Regions from separate parts of the Homo sapiens genome. Here region 1 is linked to region 2. Evidence: promoter capture Hi-C in human tissues and cell types (Jung and others, 2019). All regions are on one chromosome and are shown on one strand. The core of a region is centred on a gene start or on the middle of the fragment in contact, and the rest is flanking DNA. Distances in the headings are between cores, read along the strand shown.

Region 1 (5,328 bases), core at 1,673-4,172, 710 kb before region 2:
GCCTGTGTTCTTCCTGTTGCCTGGTGTTCCTTTCCTATGGACACCTCCCCTGCCTTCCCACTTTTCCCACCCTCCTGTTTCCTCTGTACTTCCATAGAACTTCCTTCCTCCTTGATAACACACAGTATGGTCAGCTTGACTAATAATTACTTGTCCTGTCTGTCCCTGGATTGTAAGCCTCAAGGAGATGAAGACTACACTTTGTTCATTTTTATACTTCCCTTCTCCCCAGGGCCAACTACAGTAGCTTGCATCAATATGTTAAGCTAACATTTCTTGCGTCTTTACCATATCAAGCCACCTGGCTGGTGTTGCAGGTAGCAGACACTCAACAAACACCCACTGGATTAAAGTCAGTCAGGGTGGCATGGACAAGTGTTCCCTGGACCTAATGATGTTCAGATGAGATGCCCATCTATCATCTGTGTTTGCAGAGCTGAGACAGCAGAGTTAGACTCATGGTGGCATCCATGGTGAGGCAATGAATGAATCTCAGCCTAGCCTTTTACAAAAAAACTTTTACATGAGGCATAATTTCTCATTTAAAATTAAATGACATTAATTAATAATTAAATGACATAAATAGAAAACAAAAAAAAGCACTGGAATTAATAAGCAAACAGACAAATCCACACACATACAACACAGTTTTTCCTCTTTTTAAACAATTAATTAAGTTGACATTCCTCTCTCCTCTTTTCTTTCTCTTTCTTTCTTTGAGACAGAGGCTTAACTCTGTCGCCCAGGCTGGAGTGCAGTGGCACAATCTTGGCTCACTACAACCTCTGCCTCCCAGGTTCAATCTATTCTTCTTCTTTTTTTTTTTTTTTTGAGATGGAGTCTCACTCTGTTGCCCAGGCTGGAGTACAGTGGCGCCATCTCAGCTCACTGCAAGCTCCGCCTTCCGGGTTCACGCCATTCTCCTGCCTCAGCCTCGCGAGTAGCTGGGACTACAGACGCCTGCCACCACGCCCGGCTAATTTTTTGTATTTTTAGTAGAGACGAGGTTTCACTGTGTTAGCCAGGATGGTCTCGATCTCCTGACCTCATGATCCGCCCGCCTTGGCCTCCCAAAGTGCTGGGATTACAGGTGTGAGCCACGGCACCCGGCACAATCAATTCTTCTGTTTCAGACTCCCGAGTAGCTCGGATTACTGGTGCTCACCACCACACCCAGCTAATTTTTGTATTTTTAGCAGAGATGGGGTTTCACCATGTTGGCCAGGCTGGTCTCAAACTGCTAACCTCAAGTGATCCACCCGCTCGGCCTCCCAAAGTGCTATTACAGGCGTGACCCACTGTGCCAGGCCTCTTTCTCTTTCTACAATTGCAATTATGACTCACAAGCACATTACAGGATGCTAAGTTTAGATGAACAAATATTAGAGAATGGCATGGGAGTGGATTCCCCAGTTAGCCAGTTTGCGTGTTTCAGAGCTAAGGCATGTGGGTCAATCCACAGGTGACTTTATTGTAGTTCTTTCAAAAGAGTCAGCATCTACACATGAAGGTAGAAGCAGAATCTGGTCCTGATTTTCCCACTGACGATCCTTGTCCTGGCTCCAACTCTTCATCTCTCTCTCTTACCCCCAAGATTTGTGGAAAAGCCCCAGCTCTGGGCAAACTTGAGACTGATGACACAATCCTAAAGAACTTGACTACTCAGATAATATCAGAGAACTTTACAAAGTCACTCCTAAAGCAATTGATGAAAAAGTACCGGAAGGCTGGGCATGGTGGCTCACATCTGCATTCCCAGCACTTTGGGAAGCTAAGGTGGATGGATAGCTTGAGCCCAGGAGTTCGAGACCAGCCTGGGCAAAATCCTGTCTCTACCAGAAATACAAAAATTAGCCAGTCTTATAACCTGGTCTCAAAAGAAATAAATAGAAAACAAAAACAAAAAGCACTGGAATTAGTAGCAAACAAACAAATCCCCACATATACAATATAGTTTTTCCTCTTTTTAAACGATTTCTACACACTAAGTTTCTATCTTCCACAGGCTATATAATCAATCATTATATATTGCCTCAAATCAATGCTCACCCCTACAGGTTCTTAAAAAAAAAGCAGCAAATAATATTGCCTTGATCCCTGACAGCCTGTAGAGCTACCAACAAGAGAGCACCAGGAATCGCCCACTTGTACGATACATGAAGTCCTACAGTGGCTCTGGCTTTCTGGGGAACTCACACCTTTATCAAGAGCCTATATTTTCCTTGGCTTATGTTTGCAACACACATTTCACTCAAGCTTCACCTTTCACTTCATCATCATTCTTCAGATGAAAAGAGTTTCTATTACCTGAAGGGAATTACTCTGTGAAGACAAAGAACAGAAAAAAATAGCATGCATGCCATGTTTAAACACATACATGGAGCAGGGGGCGTGGCTTGCTCACTAGCTCAATGACTGTCTCCCTCCCCACAAGCCTCCTAGGATGTACTTGAATTTGCGCCTCAGCAAATTTCAAATTACTACATGTCATGGACCACTGGGATCTCTCCCAGAGAGAACTCCCAATTGTCAGAGCTACAAATCCCTGGCAACATAGCCCTGTTACGCATTCACATTCCTAAATGTTTCCTGCCATTATTCCGTCCTCCAAATCAGCCTCTTTCACTGTTTAGCAATAATAATGCAACTTTGTAATAGTTACTTTGTAAAAGCAAACTTTCATTATTATTACCAACTACAGAAGGGAAAAGTCTCTGCAGCACAAATAGGTTCTCACTTGACAAGACATTTCACAGGAGTTGGCTCAGCATGCATAGTTCCTTATTGCTACAGCGTTGTAATGACACAAAGACAGCTCTTTATCCAATTCAACAAACACTTCTGAGCCCCATAAAGTGCAAGGCATCATTTATTCACAAAACGTTTTTCTAACATTTTTAAAACATAACCTAGGCCGGGCGTGGTCGCTCATGCCTGTAATCCCAGCACTTTGGGAGGTTGAGGCGGGTGGATCACAAGGTCAGGAGATCAAGACCATCCTGGCTAATACGGTAAAATCCCGTCTCTACTAAAAATACAAAAACTTAGCCAGGCGTGGTGGCACACGCCTGTAGTACCAGTTACTCGGGAGGCTGAGGCAGGAGAATGGCATGAACCCGGGAGGCAGAGCTTGCAAGTGAGCTGAGATCGCACCACTGCATTCCAGCCTGGGTGACAAAGCAAGACTCCGTCTCAAAAAAACAAACAAACAAAAGACCCCATAACCTATAAAAAGAATACAACCTATCTCTCAAGTCGTGTATGTGTATATATAGAATACAGTTACATAATATAAATCTATATATGCAACACAAAACTCTTTTTTTTTTTTTTAAGACAGAGTCTTACTCTGCTGCCCAGGTGCAATCATGGCTCACTGCAGCCTCAACTTCCCAGGCTCAGGTGATCCTCCAACCTCAGCCTCTGGAGTAGCTGGGACTACAGGCACGTGCCACCACACCTGGCTAATTTTTTTTATTTTTGTGGAGACGAGGTTACGCCATGTTGCCTAGGCTGGTCTTGAACTCCTAGGCTCAAGCAATCCTCCCACCCACCTCCGCCTCCCAAAGTGCTGGGATTACAGGTGTGGGCCACTGTGCCCGACAGACATTTTTGTTTTTTTTTTTTCGGAAACAAAGTCTTGCTCTGTCGCCCAGGCTGGAGTACAGTGGCATGATCTTGGCTCACTGCAACCTCTGCCTCCCAGGTTCAAGTGATTCTCCTGCCTCAGCCTCCCGAGTAGCTGGGACTACAGGCGCGTGCCACCACACCCGGCTAATTTTTGTATTTTTAGTAGAGACAGGGTTTCACCATGTTGGCCAGGCTGGTCTTGAACTCCTGACCTCAGGTGATCTGCCCGCCTCGGCCTCCCAAAGTGCTGGGATTACAGGTGTGAGCCACTGTGCCCAGCCTTGGCAGACATTTAATATGCTATTTTCTTTTGTCTTTTTTTTTTTTTTTTAATGCACTAAATGCATTTCATGACCTCACTGGCTTGGTACCTGCATTTTGAAAACGCTCGTTTTTTTTGTTTGTTTTTTGTTTTTTTCTGAGACAGAGTCTCACTCTGTTGCTCAGGCTGGAGTGCAGTGGTGTAATCTTGGCTCACTGCAACCTCCACCTCCCGGGTTGAAGTGATTCTCTTGCCTTAGCCTCCCAAGTACCTGGGATTACAGGCACATGCCACCATGCCCAGCTAATTTTTACATTTTTAGTAGAGATGGGGTTTCACCATGTCAGCCAGGCTGGTCTTGAACTCCTGACCTCAAGTGATCCGCTTGCCTTAGCCTCCCAAAGTGCTGAAATTACAGGTGTGAGCCACCGCACCCAGCTGAAAACACTGGTTTGTAGTATTTCAAGAAAAGCGGCACATCATAGCAAACAATAAAATCCTACCTAAAGAAGATAACCTTAAAAATTCTAGGCAGAAGAATAATTTTTTGCTTCTTATTTAACTTTCAACTGCCAGGACATTTTAAAAGTATTTGAACTCAGTGAATGAGCATTTATATAAAAGCTTTTAAACGATCTCCAAATCTTTATCCTTTATCCTGAAGAACCTGAGACAGAAAAAGTAATCCTCTTCCCAATCTGTATTAAAGACTTACATCTGTGTCTTTTAAGAAATCTTAAACCTGTTCTTGCTTCAAATGATTACCCTCCTGGCAAGATTACCATGAAGATTAAATGAGATAATATAAGTGAAGTACCTCGTGGTTCCTGCTATGATTCAGGTTATTGGGTTATCTTTTCTTGAAAATGCTTGATCTGTTTGACCTTTGGGCTCATTCACCCAGAGAATCTGTTCTACTGGACAATAAGGGGCAGAGGCTCCCTCGAGGAGTTTACTAGCTCTATCAGTAAGAATAAATATCATTACAATCTAAGGTTCAAGAGTGCCAGGCTATTTCATTTATTCATTCAATAGATTTTTTTTTTTTTTTGAGACAGAGTCTCACTCTGTTACCCAAGCTGGAGTGCAGTGGGTATGATCACGGCTCACAGCAGCCTCGACCTCCCAGGCTCAAGCAATCCTCTGCCTCAGTCACCTGGGTAGCTGGGACTACAGGCGTGTACCACCACACCAGGCTTAAGTTATTTTACTGTTAGTAGAGACGAAGTATCATTGTTGCCCAGGCTGGTCTTGAACTCCTAGGCTCAAGGAATAAGTGCTGGGATTATAGGTGTGTCTACCACACCCAGCTAGATAATTATTGGGTGCCTCACATGCCAGGCATGATGCCATAAACTGGGATTATGGGGTGTAAAAAATAGGAGACACAACCACATCCCTCCAGGAACTTACAATTAAATACTTAGACTTTGTGA
Region 2 (5,619 bases), core at 1,105-3,604:
AGGGGTCCTGGCTAAGTTGTCCACTTCTTTATTGGGCCTGCATTGCACCCCACATCTCCCTCTGCCCAAACCTTTCTCCTACTTCCTTTCATAGTTGTTGATCCCTAAGAAACACCGTAAATACTTCCATCCCTCATCCCATCCCATGCCCCAAAAGTTCAAAACAGGGAAATATGTTGTACATGCAGAAAAGCCTCTGTAAGACCACACCCGGGCTTCTAAATCTCAACACATTTCCTTTTAAAAGTAGCTTTTCAGCTGGGTGTAGTGGCTCATGCCTGTAATCCCAGCACTTTGAGAGGCCAAGGTGGGTGGATCACCTGAGGTCAGGAGTTCAAGACCAGCCTGGCCAACATGGTGAAACCCTGTCTCTACTAAAAATACAAAAATTAGCCAGGCGTGGTGGTGCACGCCTATGATCCCAGCTACTTGGGAGGCTGTGGCAGGAGAATTGCTTGAACCTGGGAGGCGGAGGCTGCAGTGAGCTGAGATTGTGCCACTGCACCCCAGCCTGGGCAACACAGTGAGACTCTGTCTCAAAAAAAAAAAGGGGGGGGGGGCTTTTCCCCTTCATTCTTTGTATCACACAATCTAGCATTTCATTACATAATGTGATGATATCTATTGCATGGGGAATTAGTCCTGACTCCCCAACAAAAGTCCTTAAGGGCACCCATAACTCACCAAGAGCTTAAAATCTCCCCAGCACTGAATGTTTTATATATACATCTCACTTACACTCACAAATCCATGAGGTAGAAACTGTTATCCCATTTCAGAAATGAGGAAATTGAGGTTCAGGAGATTCAGTGGCTTGCCCAAGCTATTAAGTGACAGAGTGATGATGTACACCAAGTCTATCTGATTCTAAAGCCTGTAAGTCACTTCATTATGCTCTTTTCTGTTTTTGTTGTTGTTGTTGGAGATGGAGCCTCACAGGCTGGAGTGCAGTGGTGCGATCTCAGTTCACTGTAACCTCTGCCTCCCAGATTCAAGCGATTCTCCTGCCTCAGTCTCCCGAGTGGCTGGGATTATAGACACCTGCCACCACGCCCAGCTAATTTTTTTGTGTGTTTTTTAGTAGAGACGGGGTTTCGCCACGTTGGCCAGGCTGGTCTTGAACTCCTGACTTCAGGTGATCCACCCGCCTCAGCCTCCTAAAGTACTGGGATTACAGGCGTGAGCCACCACGCTCGGCCCATTGTGCTGTTTTCTTTTCTCAACTTTTTACATTAAAAAAAATTTTTTTTCTCCCCTCTTAAGAAAAAAGTTTGTTTCTTAAATCCTCTCAAACACTATCACAAAGCAGGGCACAGAACTGATGTTGGGGTTGACTCCAAGGCCAAGTGTTTCCATGTACTCACAGCTCTGCAGCATCTCTGTCAGCGTTTCCACGGATGCTTTCTCGGCACTCTCAAACCCTGCCTCTGTCAGCAAGGAGCTCACAACCACCTGCAGGGTTCTCCTCCGGGCCAGATGATAGTTATCGGCAGGGTTAGTGGACTGTTTACTTCCCGATCTCTGTGAATCAGCAGAGAGATTTTCATCCACAGGAGAAGGATGCAATCACATAGTTCATACGTGGTCAACGGCAAGCAAAGTTATTTTACTAAATAATTTTATTTTAAAAATCAGTGCTTAATGTTTAGATTTACAGATCTTGGCCAACTGAGTAAAAATTGAGCACCCAAGGTGCTTTAAATACAGAGACCACTTCTCCGCTTACCTAAAACGTACAGTCCCAATGAGATAAAATAGCAGGTCTTTTACTTTCTACTTTAGCAGATTATTAGAATACATAGCTGAAGAAACACGCATGATGGGATTAAGACGTGTCCCGCAGAAAAAACAGGATCCCTCTCTTGTGCCTCCCATCTTCACACCATTTCATTGAAAGGGAAAATGAAAACAGTAACAAGAGGTGACCGCGAGGAGAGGAGGGCAAAAGATAAAAGCACAAAAAAGTAAGAAAGCTAAATATTTTGAAACGGGAATGCCTTTCAACTTTGGCCGGCCAATAAGAAGGCGAAAACGGCATCTTCAGACCAATCGGGGGTGTTCCGGGCTCCCAACCCCCAACAGCGAACGAGCCAATCAAGACACAGGTCCGCCAACTCCGGAGGCCGCAGCCAAGTCCCAAGGAGGGGGCGCCTACGGCCTGAAAACACCCTCCGCCAGTCGGAGCTCATGATGGGGCTGAATTTCTGGGCATTATCTTGTTGCTCAGTCGAGGGGAAAGTTGCAGGATACCCAAACTCTCTCGGCTCCGAGCCCGCGCTTCCTGCCCTTACCGTTCCGGAGCCACCGGCCCCAGCTGTGGCCGCCGCGTCGGCCATCTTGTTCTGGCGTAGTGTGCGCGAGCGCGGGGCGCGATGGGACTTGTAGTCGCGGGGCGGGGCGGGGCGGGGCGGCGTGCGCCCCTTGGTTTTCCGAAGCCCAGTCGGTTGGGGGACGCCTCCGGTGACCCCGGCTCACGTGACTTTTTTTTTTTTTTTTTGGATACAGAGTCTTGCTCCGTTTCACAGGCTAGAGTGCAATGGCGCGATCTCGGTTCACTGCAACCTCCACCTCCCAGGCTCAAGCGATCCTCCCGCCTCAGCCTCCGGAGTAGCTGGGATTACAGGCGGGCACCACCACGCCCCGCTAGTTTTTGTATTTTTAGTAGAGACCGAGTTTCGCCATGTTGGCCAGGCTGGTCTCGAACACCTAAGCTCAAGCAGTCCGCGGCCTCGGCCTCACAAGGTGCTGGGATTACAGGCGTGAGCTACCGCGCCAGCCTCACGTGACCTTTTGAGAGTGAAGTGTTCTGGGGCCTTCAGTGGCTTGGTTGTGGGCCAGGAAAACGCGCCCGGTTTCACTGAGTTAAAAGAAACCTATTTTAATATGAAAATCGGTTCTTATAAAGAGCATACCAGGAGATCATCTACACTCGCAGGGTTTTCCAAACTTGTCTTATTATTAGTAACACCTGGCTGGGCCCAGCCCAATCCCAGTGACTTCACTCTCTGGAAGAGGGGCTTGGGAATCTTTCTCATTAAGGAGCTCCCCAGATGATTCTTCTGAGCGAGTAATGTTGGGAAACCCTGGAGCATCCAGCCTGGTGATTTTGTGCTGAGGGCCGCCCCGCCTGTCAATGGCCCACTTGGAAGTAGAGCCTGGACCACCTAGTCCAAGTCTATCGCTGCATCCTGCTGCCTTCGCGCCCTCGACCCGCAAGTATTTGCGAGGCAAGTCTAGGGGGCGGGAGACTTGTCCCTTGCCGCCTCACTCCCAGGGCGTGGGGTGCCCGCGGCTACCAGTGGTTTTCTCCCTAGCCTGTCAGCCCCTCTAGCTGCGCCGTGTTCGTCCCCATTTGCAGGTGCCTGGCAGGACGCAGATTCTGGGCTTGGATCCTAACACTAGCCAGCTATGGTACTTCGGGCACTTGACCTTAATCCTCAGTGTGTCTCAGTTTCCTCTTCTGTAAAGCTGGGGGAAAGATGAGATGATACACAGAAAGAGTCTGTCACAGTGCCTGACGTGTAGTAAGAGTCAAGAAATCGGCCGGGCGCGGTGGCTCTCGCCTGTAATCCCAGCACTTTGAGAGGCCGAGGCGGGTGGATCACCTCAGGTCAGGAGTTCGAGACCAGCCTGACCAACATGGTGAAACCCCGTGTCTACTAAAAATACACAAAATTAGCCGGGCGTGGCGGCGTGCGCCTGTAGTCCTAGCTACTCGGGAGGCTGAGGCAGGAGAATAGCTTGAATCCGGGAGGCGGAGGTTGCAGTGAGCCGAGATCGCGCCACTGCACTCCAGCCTGGGCGACAGAGGGAGACTCCATCTCAAAAAAAAGAAAAAGAAAAAGAAGTCGCTCCTCATGATGTTGTTTACTTCCTGGATAGCACGTGGAGGAGTTGCCAACGCCGGGAGGCAGCGGTCCGGGAACCCGTGCTGCCCCGGCCCCGCCGCCCACACCTGAGCCTCCGTGGCGCCCCGCCCCCGCACCTATGCCGCGTGGGGCGGGGGCTGCGGGCGGGGGTGCGCGGCGCCGGATGAGCCTCCTGGCCTCGCCGAGGGTGTACAGGGGGTGGGAGAGTCAGGCCGGGGACCGAAACTTGGCTGAGCAGAGCACCAGCCCCTTTGTCTCCTCCGCCCCCTCTTCCCCACTTCCTGCCCAGCTCTGGATCGGCGGCGCGGCGCGGACTTTGTAAACACTTCGCCACTGCAGGGGTGGAGACTGGCTCTGTTCGGATGCCGGCCGGGGGGGAGAGGTGCAATCCTCTCCTCGCGGCTGGTGGTTGCGACCACCCCCACTCCCCAAAGGCAGGCTCCGGAGGCGGCGGGACAGAGCGCCTGCGACCCCAGTCGGTGCTCCGGGGAGGTCACCTGACGAGGAGGTAGGCTTGGGTGCTGGAGAAACCGGGGTAGATGGGATGTCAGCTCAGGCTGGAGACCATGCGTTGGGGATCGGTGCTGGGTGGGTCAATGGGGTCGCCGCATCCTCATCACTTCCTAGTTGGCACCGAAAGCTTGGCTCACTTTCCCACTGAGTGAGGTGTTCTGCACGGAATTGAAGGGCAGAGAAACCCCCAAAGGCCCTGAGCCCTCTGTATGTACACACATCGGCACAACCCCCTCCAGCTGATCTGGAAGCCCCGTGGCTTTACCGGGCTGTTGGTCTTCTCATGCCTCAAAGATGGGGTGGAAGGCCAGTAGGAGGGCAGACCAGTGTGGATGGGGAGTCTGTGAGTGCTCTGGCAAGTGCACCGGGATGAAACTGGAGGGAGGGACCCCTCAGTGGTGTCTGATTGATACATAGATGATGATCTTAGCTTCTTCTGTGTCTCTTGAAGTGCCAACAAGAGGAATAACTGAATAAATTGGTTGCTGTTACTAAGGGAGCATTAAGTTATTCATTTGCATTGATTGAACACCTACTATGTGCCTGGCATTATATGGAATGCTGAGGGTGCAATGATGTTATTCATCCACAGCTAATATGGATCACAAAACAATAGACATAGATGCCAAGTACACTGGCTGGGGTGGCTGGGAAGGCTTCAGAGAGAAAAGGACATTTGAGTTGGGTTCAGAAGGATGAAAAGCATAGAAGTCTTTGGGGGCACTTATTCCACAGAACTGGATTGAACCCCAGCTGTGGTGTTGGACACTGGAATATAGGGGCGACCCAGAAACAATTCCTGCTCCCTTTAATCCACTGTCTAACCATCAAGGGAATGAACAGGATGAATCCCAGAAAAGGCAGTTTTCTGGGCTGGGTCCCAAGAACCCAGGAATTCCCAGCTGGGTACAGCTGGGAGGGTCCACCTGGGGGTGATGTGACAGTCCACACAATCCTGGGCACCCCCTCCTCATCCCTGGACTCTGAGACTGTTTCCTCTGACGAGTCCTTGCCCTCTGCCTACCACCTCATTTCTCTTTGGGACCAGACGTGGATAGAGAAGTGGATCTCCCTTTGCTTCCTCACAGATTCTTCTGGCCGTTCAATTCTGGGGCTCCTTCGGGAAATGACTGACACAGCAATTTATGAATTCATTCAGCACCTATTTGCTATGGCCATACTCCATCTGCACAGGCTATTCCCACAGCTGTTGGGGATGTCATGGTAATCAAATCAG

Evidence for each region. The method cuts DNA at HindIII sites, captures the fragments that hold promoters and counts their contacts. A contact is called where the count stands out against the background at its distance.
Region 1: a fragment that was not itself captured here is called in contact with the fragment with the promoter of TAF8 in region 2 in 1 of the 25 tissues and cell types used here (dorsolateral prefrontal cortex).

What each region holds. Positions count from the first base shown.
Region 1 is chr6:42,762,543-42,767,870 of GRCh38, reverse strand. It overlaps a transcript of BICRAL not described here. Among named protein-coding and RNA genes, the nearest start is that of BICRAL, 17 kb to the left of the region's middle. The HindIII fragment of the contact is 4,121 bases long and covers 862-4,982 here.
Region 2 is chr6:42,047,259-42,052,877 of GRCh38, reverse strand. It overlaps TAF8 (TATA-box binding protein associated factor 8), which reads right to left and starts at 2,354. Exons shown (of 9, transcript NM_138572.3): 1 at 2,292-2,354; 2 at 1,365-1,521. The coding sequence starts at 2,336. It also overlaps a transcript of CCND3 not described here. RefSeq lists enhancers at 1,628-2,179, 1,849-2,398, 2,180-2,731, 4,488-4,537 and a silencer at 3,868-4,117. The HindIII fragment of the contact is 17,019 bases long and covers 1-5,619 here.